Regions from separate parts of the Homo sapiens genome. Here all the other regions are linked to region 1. The links are contacts of gene promoters, found by promoter capture Hi-C in blood cells and fetal thymus (Javierre and others, 2016). All regions are on one chromosome and are shown on one strand. The core of a region is centred on a gene start or on the middle of the fragment in contact, and the rest is flanking DNA. Distances in the headings are between cores, read along the strand shown. Region 1 holds the start of ST3GAL1 (ST3 beta-galactoside alpha-2,3-sialyltransferase 1). Region 2 holds the start of NCRNA00250 (non-protein coding RNA 250). Region 3 overlaps ZFAT (zinc finger and AT-hook domain containing).

Region 1 (3,971 bases), core at 1-2,500:
CACACATCCGTTGAGTGGCAGTGCAGGATTTGAACCAAGAAGTCCGGCCATGCGGGCCCTGGCCTGAATCCCTGTACTACAGCAGCCGTCTGATGAAACAAAGGCTGGGGGACTCTCCCCTTCCACTGCAAAAGGTTGATCTCTCTCCAGCTGGAGCAAGGGGCGCTGGAAGGATGCAATGACCCCAAAGGCAAACTGTGCCTCTTTCCTCTAACATTCCTCCGAAAAGTTGCGAAAGAGGTAGTCTCAGTAAGGGGTTAAGAACCGTAAAACCAGATTTACATGACTTGTGTACTGCATTTAGCATCAAAGCGCTGCACTCTGCCTTTCAGCAAAAGAAGTCTCCACCGCCCCCGCTTCCCTGTAAAAGAGGGAGGGCTGAATAACTGCAAGCCTAATCCGCAAACCCCAAGCTCCAGCCGCAGCCTCCGCATCTGGAAGGAAAAAGCGGCGGCAGGCGAGCCAGGGCAAGGGCTGGGCCAGGGCCGGGGCCGGGACCAGGGCCGGCCGCAGTGCCCGGCTCTGTGGCTCTGAACGCGGTTCTGGCCGCAAGAGTCGTCCAGCCCACGCTCCTCCCTTCCCCCTCCCTAAATCCCACCTCGAGTCCCGCGCCCTTAGAGGAAGTGGGTGGCTCTGCCCGGTCGCCAGCAGGGGATCGGCCCCTTCTCCCCACCGTGCCCCCGACTCGAGTTCTTCTGGGCACTGCCATCCTCTCGGTGCGTGCCCGTCTTCCTGCTGAAACGGACCCCAGTGGCTCCCGGGCCTCCCGGGCGCTCTTCCTTAGCCCCGCCAGCTTGAGGGCCGCGTCCAGAGAGCGGGGAGCTCCTCTCGGGGCGCCGATCAGGTCCCCGCGCCGCAGCCGCCGCCTCCGGCGTCTCCCAGGCTCGGCCTCTGCCGAGCCCGCTGCGGTCCACGTGGCTTGGCAGAGCTAAATTCGGCTTGCAGGAAGCCCGGAGCCAAGGGAAAGCCGAGCCAAGTTGGGGTGGGCGGGGCCGAACGGAGGCGCAGAGTCGGGAGGGGCGGGCACTGGGCGGAGGAAGGGGAGGGCCGCGCGCAGGGGAGGCGGTGGCTGGGCTCTGGCGCGCCCTGGCACCCGGCCCCGGCCGGCCAGGGAAGGCGGCCCCTCCTCGGTCGCCCCGCCTTTCACTCCCGTTACACCCGGGGGAAGGTGTTCCCGAGCCCTCTCCCACCCTCATCCCGCCTCCTCGCTTCCTCGGCTCCAGCCTCCGCCGGCGGAGCCCACTATGCCAGACAGTTTCGACACTTTGCAAAGACAAAGAGCCCTAGACCGGAGGGAGGAGGAGGAGGAAGAAGAGCGGAGAGAGAAGGAAGAGGCGATGTGAGCTGGGAAGGGGGCAAGTGTCCGGGACACCCACACCCCTGTATTCTCCTCCGAACCCCTTCATGCCCAAATCCCGGAAACTCCAGCGTGTCTCCAGCCGTGGTGAGTGCGCGCGCGGAGGCGAACCCTGCTCGGGGTGCGCGGGGGCTGCGTCCGCCTGAGTTGGGGCTCGGGCAGTTTCCTGTGGATTCTCGGAGTGGAAGGTTGATTGTCTGGACCCGGGAACTGAAGGGGTGGGGAGGGGACTAGGAGGGTGTGACAGTGGAGCTGGGACTGAAGACCCCGGGATTCTAGTGGAAGACATTCGAAGGGAGACCCCTTCCTTGGCAGCGGCGACCACCCAGGGCTTTGGGAGAGGAAGAAGGTCGGGGTGGAGGTTCGGGCTTAGGGGTCTTCGGCCGACACTGGAGGAGCTGCCTGGAGCTCTGTGGGGAACCTACGCCAAGTCCCGGGCAGCGGTTCCCGAAAGCAGCCCCAGTGACATTGCACCCGGCGCCGGGCTGGGATCTCCTCCGCTGGGGCCGCCCGTGGGAGGAGACCTCGCTGGGTGGCCGGGCTCAGGCGCTCTCGAGCGGATTTGGGGTCACAGGCTGGGACACCGCGGAGGCCGCCAGTGTTCTGGACGAGCGGCCGTGGGACAGTATCCGGATCGAGTCCCCCAATCCGCTGCAAGCAGGCGCAGATCCGGGAGGTGGCTATCGGCCCCGGGGACGCCGTCAGAGCGCGCTGCTCCGGATCTGGGGGTGAAGTTGACACCCGGGACAAGAGAGCTGAACGCGGCGTGGCGGACAGTGGGGGACGCGGGTGGGCCAAGGAGAGCACGGCCGGAGTCGTGTTAGTGGCAACTCGAAACTCTGAATCCGCCCCAACCCCGTGAGGCGTCGCAGCTCCCAAGAAATAATCTGACAAAAGTTAGCAACTTGCCTGTGTCTCTCGTGTGTGTGACCTGCGTGGGGGCAGGGCCACCCCTTCTGGGAGCGCACGGGGACGGACAGCGGTGACCCTGGGGCGAGGCGCTCTGGTGAGGGTACAGTTAGTTTGGAATCGGGACGGTGGCGCAACTTTCCGCTCCTCCTTTCTCTGCGCGAGTGTTTAAGCGTGACCTTGCGGGAGGAAGCGCGGCTGAACTTGAGATGGGGGTTGAGCTTGCGCCCCGGCTTGGCACAGAGACGTCGGAGCGCGCATTAGCCTGGCCTTGCAGCCGGGTCTCCCAGGAAGCGTGTGGGGATCGTCTGGCTCTGCTCGTCAGCTGGAGCCCTGACTCGCTCCTCCCTCCTACGCTAGGGTCCTCGGCGGCCGTACCATGCGCGGGGCTCGGTGGTGTGTTGGGCGAGGGGACACGTGCGCACCCAGAAGCGCGCAAGGGGGTGGGGGTTGGGCAGGTCACTGCGTCTCGCGGGCTGGGCGAGTCCCGCAGAGGGAGTCAGCCGTGACCCTGAGGGCAGTGACTGGCTCGCCGCGTCCCTGCATCAGGCATTCGCCCGGCTTTCTCGTGATTGTTTCCGGGCACCCCTGGCCTCTCCCGACTTCTCCCCCTCGCGGGTCCCCAAGCCCCGCAAGTTTGCGACGAGCTGGTTCTCCAGGGAGACAGCGAGCGCCCACCCCCGCTCTGCGGCTGGGTGTGTGTGGTGAGAGGAAGAGACGGGAGGAGGAGGCGAGGCCGACTCGCCAACGAGGAAAACGGGGTGAGAGGGGAGCCGGGTTTTCCAATAGTCGCCAGGGCGCCTGGCACGTCGTAGGTGCTAACGCAGTGTTCATTGACAAGGCCCCAAGGTGGAAGGTGCTGGCAGGGGCCCGGACGCCCCCTTCTTCCCTTCCAGTCTCTAAAATGGAGTTCAAATGTATCGACCAAGCCCTTTAGGCTTCTAGACGTGCCTGGAGCACCTACTACGTGCGGGGGCTCTACTCCTGGCCTGTTCGTAGAAGCTGCGGGCGGAGCCTCCTGATTTTCTTTACCCCGCGCTGCCCAAGCGCCCAGAGGCTTCGAAAAGGCAAGGTGCACTGCCCCCTGCCGGCTGCTGTGGAAACTGCCGCTTGTCTCTGCGGTGGGGAAGGGGCGCCCAGTGCGGGGGTCCCTCAGTGCCTTCCCGCACCTCCCCTTCCTGCCCCAAACATTAGGACCCCTGCCGGCTGTTTTCTGAAATCCCATGGTTGGCTGAAATGACTGACTAGAGTTCACCACTCCGTGCCCCTCAGCCTCTGCCAATATCTGGGTACAGCGTGGGGCCTCTTCTAGTCTCCCGTCTCTCTGTCTCTGTCTCTCTTTGGTCGCCAGACTTAACCTCTCGGCGTCTCAGTTTCTATATCTGCAAAATGAGGCCAATAATACATTCTCCAAAATACGTTCTGCATAATTGCGAGTGGCGATAATACATATAATTAAGTGAATGTGTGTATGTATAGGTAGTTCATACTCTACATGTGTGTATGTGTATACCTTGACTTCAGGTCTAGGGAAAAAAGTTCCATCGTACACTTTTTGCTAAATAAAGAATGAATAGAGGGCTCCTTCTCCTCTTGCCTTTTCAAAATCCCACAAACCCTGAAGTTTGCTTTCCCTGCATTTTTCTGGGCCGGCATTTGCTGTTTAGAGTCTGATTGGACAAGGCCAGGACCTGGGCTTGAGCAG
Region 2 (4,601 bases), core at 1,082-3,581, 1.3 Mb before region 1:
ACAGCAGATACTTTTGAGCAAATAATAGAATCTACCCAGTAATGTGCTGATAAATATTTAACAACTGCCTCTCTGGAGGAACAGAAGCCCTGATTTGTACATTTGTCAATTTCCATGGTATAAATACTCTCACCGTGGCCAATTTCAAGTCACCAGTGTCATGTCATCAAATGTAAAATTAGAAAGAGACATGTACAATTAGCTCTTGTGAGCCACTATGAGCATGCTACAGCATACCACTGAATCAACCTCAGTTTAAATCAATTATTTGCTAAACATAAGTTGACTTAGGCCTGTTCCACAATATGAAGAACCCCTGCAGTCTTGCTGTGGATTATAACAAGGGAGGAGACTATTATGTGACTCAGCATAAACCTGCCTTAAACCTAAACTGAGGATTTGCAGTAGGGATGAGGAGGACTAGACGACTCAAAATTAAGTCTTCATATTATTTGCTATTTCAGCATTAATTGGAAAATTCAAGGGGACAGTAAGAATGTGAGATTGAAATAAAAATAGTATTTTGCCTCTATAAATAAGATTCAGCCCCAGGCTCCTCTTCTGCAGAAATTCTTATTAAGGACTTGGCTCTCCTCCAAGAAAAATAAGGTAGAAATCATTCAAAACCCTTTACTTCCAAATTATTCCTGATAGGAGCTGCTTGATGAGTATAGCTCTCTAGTTTTGTATGTTTACAATTTTCTAATAAAAGGCTTGTTTAAAATATCCCTGAGCTAGGAAGTAGCTCTTACATACTTAAGTCTTAAGCCATTTTTTTTCAAAGACTATTCCTTTTTTTTTTTTGACTGAATCTCTCTGTAGCACAGGCTGGAGGGCAGTGGTGCAAACACAGCTCACTGCGCCTCCACCTCCCAGGCCCAAGTGATCGTCCTACCTCAGCTTCCCTTGTAGTGGGAACTACAGGCACCCACCACCATGCCCACTAGTTTTTGTATTTTTTTGTAGAGACAGGGTTTTGCATTTTGCCCAGGCTGGTCTCAAATTCCTGGGCTTAAGCAATCCTCCTGCCTGGGCCTCCCAAAGTGCTGGGATTACAGGCGTGAGCTACCGTGCCTAGCCCATGTATTCTTTAAGTACACTGACGTCATCTCTGTGGGTGGTAACACTGGGCAAGTTGCTTACGTGTCCTGAATTTGTTTCTCCAGCGATAGGACAGGATAATAACATCCACCTTACAAAGCGATTACGAAGCTTAAATATCTGGCATACATAAAGTATCTAGCAAAGCACTTGCACATGGTGGCCACTCAATAAACAGTTATTAGCATTCACTAATGAGGATACTGATTAGAATTATCATGATTATTACTGAGCCATGAAACTAGAGGTTTTAAGTTACTATTTAAAATAGTGCAAGACTCTATTCAATAGCCTCAGAGCATTTGGCAGGAATAATTTGGCTGTTGATTTTGAGTGCATCTGACAGGAACAGGAATGACTTTTGCAGCTCCCCTGGATGCATGGATGTTATTGTAATTTAACAAAACTCACCTCTCCAGTTGCTAGTGCATTTTGTCTGTTGGCCTCAAAGCTTGGCTCAAATTGTCAGGCCAATGGAAAGACTGAATGCTTTGCCTCCAGGCAAAATTGTGGCCTGCAGAGGGTGGACCCTGCATTGCATCTCAGCGAGAACGGAAAGCTCACTCAGCATGCTGCAGTCTTTCATACTGATTTTGACATAAAACATCAGGCGGAAATTCCACTTCTGACTCTGCAGTAATTGTGGAGGAGCCAGAGGGCCATCCAAACACAGATGTCTGGCATGACGCTGCACACCTCACGAGGTCACAGGACAGACATTGCAGAGAGATCGTGATGATCATGCATAAAGGAGAGCCCACCATCTTCAGGGCGCAACTCATTCATTCTTCCTCCTTCATTGTTCCGGAGTTACTGTGAATAGTCAAGATTATTGTTTCAGACTTTTTCCAATGTCTTGACTTACAATGGCGAGAAAGATGTTGATGCTGGTAATAATAGTAAAAATGGTGAAAGTTTTTCCAGAGTTTCAAATGATGGAACTCTGCATCCTACTATTGTGTAGCATGTGTGAGTACGTGTGTGTGTGTGTGTGTGTATGTGAGTACGTGAGTGTCTGTGTGATTCAACATATGTATGTGTGTATTGATTCCTCCTGAGTAGCCCCCCCCAACCCTTTTTTTTTTTAACTAAGTATGTCAGCTTCTGGAACTGCACATAACAGTTTTCCAGCAGTGACACTCATGCATAGCACAGCCATCAAAGACCTGGAAGCCATGTAATACAGCTGACCTTTGAACTAGGGGAACAACCCCTGTATGCGCAGTCAAAACTCCCAAGCATAACTTTTGAATCCCCAAAAACATAACCATTAGTAGCCTACTGTTAACCAGAAGCCTTACTGATAACATAAACAGTCGATTAACCCATATTTTGTTATATGTATTATATACTGTGTTCTTATAATAAAGTAAGCCAGAGAAAATAACATTAATGAAAAAATCGTAAGGAAGAGAAAATATATTTCCTCTTCATTAAGTGGAAGTGGATCATCATAAAGCTCTCCATCCTCATCATCTTCATGTTGAGTAGGATGAGGAAGAGGAGAAAGAGGAGAGGTTGGTTGTACTGTCAGCAATGGCAGAGGCAGAAGAAAATCCAAGTATAGCAGCTCAACGAAGTTCAAACCGGGTGGTTCAAGGGTCAACTGTAAAGACTACTAGAGGCAGAGGCTCACTTAATTGCATGTTCAGAAATTAAGAGTTTAACATTATTAGAATATGCAAAGGCATACAGAGTGACATAATGGACTTTATATCACTTTATATCATTTATATATAATGGACTCAGAAGCAAGAGGGTGGGAGTGGGGAGCCAGGGATAAAAACACTACACATTAGGTACAATGTACACTACTTGGGTGATGGGAGCACTGAAATCTCAGAATTCATCACTATATAACTCATCCATGTAGCCAAAAATGACTTGTATCCTAAAAGCTATTGAAAAAAAAGAATTTAAAATTGTTAGTATGAGCAGCTCCACAAATTTGGGGTGCAAATATGGTCATATTATTTACTTTTCCAATTAATTCATTGAGTAAAGCTTGCTGCTATAACAACAACAAACAAACAAATTTTCAGTTATTTCTCGCTCATATAACCATCTAAATTAGATGTTTCTGGTTGGAGGGCAGCTTTCCTCTACAGAATGATCCAGGGCTCAAAGCATAATTATACTCTTTTCTGGCCAGTGGGGTCTTGCACCCACTCTACTAAGGTAGCTTTCCCTAGGGCTCCCAGGAGACTCCTAACAAAGCCAACTTAACTTTCTGTTACCTCTTCTGATAACGCCAGGAGGAAAAAAATTATGTAAAAGCTTTATATTCACTGAGGCATCCTACTATATTGAATTGTCTGAAATGAAAGAACATTTCATCTCCAGATTTTAATAGATGATTGTCTATGAAATAAAGAGGATTTAGAGGCCAGGCACGGTGGGTCATGCCTGTAATACCAGCACTTTGGGAGGCTGAGGCAGGCAAATCACTTGAGGTCAAGAGTTCGAGACCAGCATGGCCAACATGGTGAAACCCCATCTCTACTAAAAATACAAAATTAACCAGACATGGTGGCAGGCACCTGTAATCCCAGCTACTCAGGAGGCTGAGGTAGGAGAAGTGCTTGAACCCTGGAGGTGGAGGTGGCAGTGAGCCGAGATCGTGCCACTACACTCCAGCCTGGGCAACAGAGCCAGATTCCATCTCTAAAAAAGAGGATATAGAGGACATCTTCATATTATAAAATGGCATAAACTGAAAAAAACATAAACATAAGCTGATATTTTAAAGAAATCAGTTAATGGTGTTTCTAAGATTTGTAGTTGGTGCTCAATACATTTATAGAACCAGGCTTTTGAATCATGCCTGAAACTTAGCAGCTCAATTGTCATTTTTTAGAATAAATGAATGGTAATGACATCAGTCTAATAAGCATTTTGAAACATGCGCAAATCTTTAGATATAAAATTTGTACATTAAAATAAGTTTTTGAGATGACAATTGGTAGATATCCCACAAATGTTTATTTCTATTATCGAAGATATCATCAGGATAATTTAGATTGCCAAAGTAGACAGAGACATGCCATGTACATGTCACTCAGGACTGCTACATATGTTCATAGAGGTTGAGCACTGCACAGTCCCAGAGGATGCCATTCACAGACTCCCATGCAAATAGCTTCCCTGGGTTTGTGCAGTGCATACTGTGCATGCAGCTGCCTAATTTGAATACATCAGTCCTAACAGGCCGTAAGGGTAGTGCAGCTGATTCACCTTGTTCATCACCAGGACTGATTGAGCTGGTCTGGCTGAGTACTGCGTTCTCACTTCATGTCCCCACTGCTTCCTCGTTTACCACCTCCTCCCACAAGCTTACGTTCTCGGAAAGATATTGGCCTTCCCTGATAGAAGCACCCTCCTGTCAAGGATGTGCTTATAACCTCACCTGAGCCCATGCACACTCCAGAGGACCCTCAGTAATCCTGGAGCAGGAGAGCCCCTAAAATGGGAACTGAATGTTCTTTCTCTCTTAGTAATAA
Region 3 (4,601 bases), core at 911-3,410, 1.1 Mb before region 1:
GCTGTCTGGGGATCAGTAAGTCTTCCTCCTGTAAGATGGAGATCTTATTATTTTGTCACTTGCTATCGCTTTATTTCTAACACCCATGTAAGTGTTTTTTTAAATTTAATTTTTCTTGGATTACACATGTAATTCCTGTTGTGTAAGATGTGAAAAACTCAGAGAAAATCTCCAAACTGGAAAAATCACACTAATTGTCATCCACTTACCCAAGCCAGGCACTGGTATGGGGTGTTAGGGAGCTGGGTGGATGGGCAGAAGGTGCTGGGTCGTCTCCTCTGTCCCTTTCAATGTCCCTGTACTCTCTCTTTCTCGTGGTCTGTGTGTCTCTGTTTTTTTCAGACCAGTTTCCTTGGCTTTTCCCCTGTAAGTTAACAGCTTTCCCCTAGTCACCCAAGTGGAAAGCTTTTTATCAGAAGTTGCAAATTGGCAACCCGTAGGCCAGACCTAACCTGCAGATTTGCTTAGTTTGGTCTGCAGGGGCTGCAGAGGTTTTTTTCTTTTCTTTTTTTTCTTTCCCAGAAAAATCTTATTTGATGGCCAGTGCTTAAAAATCAGGGGATTCCAACTACAAATTCAATATTTGGGCCTCCATTGACTAGACCTGGGAGGCAGCTACCCCATCAGACAGAGCAGGCTTTCTAAGTGCCCCACCCCCTGTCTCCAGACCTCCAGGATGGGCCTCCTGCTTGCGGGGCAGGAGCTTCTTGCATCCATTTCCTGTCCAGGTACCGGTCTGTGGCGGGGGGCTCTTGGTGGAGCCGCCACAGCTCTCAGTGTGCCTGCCCTGCCTTTAACCTGTCCTCTTTCCACACTCAAGGCTCTTCCAACAGGCAAGGCTCTTGGTTCTGCCCCCACTGGCTGTGTGGCTTCCACTCCCTTCTCCTTTCCTTCCTCCAGCTGTCTGGCCACCTCCTGGAGCAGTTCAACTTCCCCTTTTCTGACAAACCTCTTCCAGGTGCTCCAGCCACAGGGATCTCTGCCTTCTCCACACGTGCTTCTGTGGCCTGTGGTTAGTATGTTCATATGTAGATGCGCACACATACAACCTGCTTTCCTACCTAATTTTTAAGCTCCTTGCGATTCATCAAGTAGCTGTGGAACCATACAGGCCTGTATTTGATTCTTAGGCAAGTTATAGCTTTCTCATCTGTAACGTGGGATAATCATATCTTTGTGTCTGACACATTAGCAGAGCTACTGTGTACAGCTGTGCAGGTTACACACTGCACAAAGGAGCCACTTCTTCTTTTGTTTTTGTATCCTCCATGCCCCCAAGGGAGCCACTTCTAAGGGGGCTCATTTCACATAGTGAATTTGTATGTTTATTATGAGTTTTCTACAAATGGCTGCAAAGCGTATTATTCCAACAAACTCAATATGTTATGACCATTTTCTGACAGGGGGTGCTAGTGTCTTAAGGAAGGGTGCGTTTGTCCATTTCTCACAGAGGTGCCTTAAGGGCTAGCAGCAACCCAGCTTGTCCAGATCAAATGTGAGAGGGAGTACGAAAGCCTCTGGTACTCAGGAAATGTTTATCTCCTCTCCCTTGAAAGTAGGGTTGTTGTGCTGCCATAGAAGTGAGCTCAGAAGCCAGGCTTACAGCCTGAGTGTGTACGGTGTGCAGAGTGGGGAAAAAGGGCCTTACAGGGGAGGGAGCCGAGGTTGGGAGCCAGGCTCTCTCCCCAGCTAACATCCAGCCTGCCCAGTTATATGGAAATGTTTCTGAACTTCATTGATTCAAAGACTTTTTAATTTAATTTAATTTAATTTTATTTTATTTTTGAGATGGAGTTTCACTCTGTCACCCACAATGGAGTGCAATGGCACAATCTCTGCTCACTGCAACCTCCGCCTTCCAGGCTCAAGCGATCCTCTCACCTCAGCCTCCCCAGTAGCTGTGACCACAGGCAGGCGCCACCACACCCGGCTAATTTTTTGTATTTTTGATAGAGACAGGTTTCGCCATGTCCCTTAGGTGGTCTCGAACTCCTGAGCTCAAGCGATCTGCCTGCCTCAGCCTCCCAAAGTGCTGGGATTATAGGCATGAGCCACCGTGCCCGGCCAGACTTAGATTTTAGCATCTCTAAGATCAGGAGGCAGCTTACAGTTGGTGTGGTGAGAAGCTAGTGTCTCTGAGTTTATTTGGCAGCGTTTTTATCTTTTTTAGTGGTATGTAAAATATCCGTGCTCCCTAAAGTAGATGCTGTCTTAGATTTGAGGAAATACAATAATAAAACCTATTTCACAGGATTGTTGTGAGAATTAAATAAGCCTCGTATGAGCCTCTGCTGGTGCCAGCTCATGGTGAGGGTTTAATTTAACCTCCCTTCTCATCGGCTTCTTCCTCTTTCAATGCCATTGTTTTGGTTACAGCAAGTTTTCCCTAAGTATAATGACGGTAATGAAGTTGATGACATAGTTTATTCACAGCTGATTAAAAGTTCTGCAAGATGAGCTAAATGGAAGGAAAATGTTTGTTCTAACCTGAGTCTCTTCCTGAATATATAAAAAAGATATTTTAAACTGTACTCAGCTGCACATATGAGACTTTATTGATTCCGCTGGATGTGACAGCAATCTGGCTTTATGTTGTTAAAATATTTCCATTCCTATTGGGAAGCTACTGGCCCTTATTAAATTAATAACTTAAGGGCAAATGAAAAACAAGAAAACAAAAGTATAACTCAGAAAGAATTTGCCACCCTACTCCTCTCCTCATAAGATAGATAATTTAATAGGATCTTAGTTTTGGTGGTTGTACTCTCTCTAAAGTTAATAAATACAAGTAAAAGATAGTTACAAAGCAGGGAGGATGATTTATACTAATCAAGGAGAAGAAGTAAGAGATGTTTAATCTAGAGCTTTTAAACAGAGTAATGTACTAGTCTCATAATGTAGCATTTTGTCTTCTTGAGGGCATTGATAAATGGTTAATCATTTTGTAATAATCAGATCATCTAGCACTTATGGAGTGCCTACTGTGTCAGCAGCATCATCGCTAAGGGGAAGCTGGCATTGGGCTGGTGAGGCTGTCACTGCAGGTAATGAGTACAGGTGGTATGAAAGGCAGTGGGCAAAGGTGTGGCAGAAGCCAGCCCTTCAGACCCTGCCTCTCCCCACCAGCTGGTGTAGAGGGTACTGGGCAGAGGTGTGGGGTCCACAGCCAGCCCTTCAGACCCCAAACCTCCCCACCAGCTGGTATAGAAGGTACTGGGCAAAGGTGTGGGGTCCATAGCCAGCCTTTCAGATCCCAAACTTCCCTCCCAGCAGAGATGGGCACATTCACTGGGCTGCATTCTGTGTGTGCCTCTGGGAGCTGCCTCCTTCTACCTTTCTGAGCCTTACATATCTTCCAGGGTAGTTGGGACTGACTGGGCTCATGGATAAGCCACCTAGCAGTGTACATGATCTTCTCAAAATTATTGTTTGTTCCAGAAGATCCAGAGTCTTTTTGTTTGCCACAGTTATTTTTTTAAATGTGTATTTTGAAATAATTATAGATTCACAGGAAGTTGTAAAGATAATACAGAAGTCTCACATACCTTTTACCCAGTTTACCCAAAAGTGGTTTACATTTTTAAAATAAATATAAAATATACACAACACAACACAAAATTTACCATTTTAATCATTTTTCGGTAGATAGTTTAGTGGCATCAGGTACGTTAGTATTATGTAACCATCACCATCCTTGATCTCTAGAACTTTTTTTTTATTATCCCAACCTAATAGTTACATCTTATGTAACTAACTATCATACAATATTAAACCAAGAAATTGGTGCCGGTGCAGTGTGTTGTGTATAGTTTGAATCCATTTTTATTGGTGTACGTTTGTGTCATTACTCCTGCAGTCAAGATGCAGCACTGTTTGTTGCCATTTGATCTGTGTGAGTGAAGTGTAGAAAGCTTCCCACCATTTACATCCTTTTACCATCCCTCATTTTTTTTAAAAAAGGTACTCAAATATGTTAATTTTATTGTTTCTCAATACACACATTTATTTGTACTGAAAATTGTAAAAGTAGCACAAAGTTTCTTTTTATTACAATCCAAATTTTTGAAAGCCAGAAAATCCAATTATTATGCTCTAGCCAAACTATCATCCAGTGCTTTCTTTACATTCTTTCCCCACAAGTGACTTTGCTTCAAATTCTTTTTTTTTTTTTTTTTTTTGAGGGGGAGTCTGGCTCTGTCACCCAGGCTGGAGTACAGTGGTGCGATCATGGCTCACTGCAATCTCTGCCTCCAGGGTTCAAGCGATTCTCCTGCCTCAGCCTCCCAAGTAGCTGGGACTGTAGGCATGCAACACCTTGCCTGGCTAATTTTTTCTGTTTTTTTTTTTAATTATACTTTAAGTTCAGGGGTACATGTACAGAACATGCAGGTTTGTTACATAGGTATACATGTACCATGGTGGTTTGCTGCACCCATCAACCTGTCATCTGCATTAGGTATTTCTCCTAATGCTATCCCTCCCCCTCCCCAACCCCCAACCCCCCACAGGCCCCAGTGTGTAATGTTCCCTTCCCTGTGTCCATGTGTTCTCATTGTTCAACTCCCGTTTATGAGTGAGAACATGCAGTGTTTGGTTTTCTG

The links. Contacts are between HindIII fragments. The CHiCAGO score rates a contact against its expected background, and 5 or more counts as called.
Region 2: a fragment that was not itself captured here is called in contact with the fragment with the promoter of ST3GAL1 in region 1 in 1 of 17 cell types (erythroblasts); the score reaches 7.1 in erythroblasts.
Region 3: a contact is called between a fragment that was not itself captured here and the fragment with the promoter of ST3GAL1 in region 1, in 11 of 17 cell types (naive CD8 T cells, fetal thymus, megakaryocytes and 8 more). The highest score is 13.9, in naive CD8 T cells.

Annotation. Positions count from the first base shown.
Region 1 is chr8:133,569,166-133,573,136 of GRCh38, reverse strand. ST3GAL1 (ST3 beta-galactoside alpha-2,3-sialyltransferase 1) reads left to right here and starts at 1,250. Exons shown (of 10, transcript NM_173344.3): 1 at 1,250-1,444. ST3GAL1-DT (ST3GAL1 divergent transcript) reads right to left here and starts at 2,565. Exons shown (of 2, transcript NR_186509.1): 1 at 2,267-2,565; 2 at 1-2,079. RefSeq lists silencers at 501-560, 751-1,240 and enhancers at 3,031-3,250, 2,610-3,463, 3,421-3,490. The HindIII fragment of the contact is 9,717 bases long and covers 1-3,971 here.
Region 2 is chr8:134,835,221-134,839,821 of GRCh38, reverse strand. It overlaps NCRNA00250 (non-protein coding RNA 250), which reads right to left and starts at 1,753. Exons shown (of 3, transcript NR_126028.1): 1 at 1,513-1,753. The HindIII fragment of the contact is 1,553 bases long and covers 1,555-3,107 here.
Region 3 is chr8:134,679,839-134,684,439 of GRCh38, reverse strand. The region is part of intron 1 of ZFAT (zinc finger and AT-hook domain containing); the gene reads left to right. Among named protein-coding and RNA genes, the nearest start is that of ZFAT, 31 kb to the left of the region's middle. RefSeq lists enhancers at 636-725, 1,356-1,505. The HindIII fragment of the contact is 3,506 bases long and covers 408-3,913 here.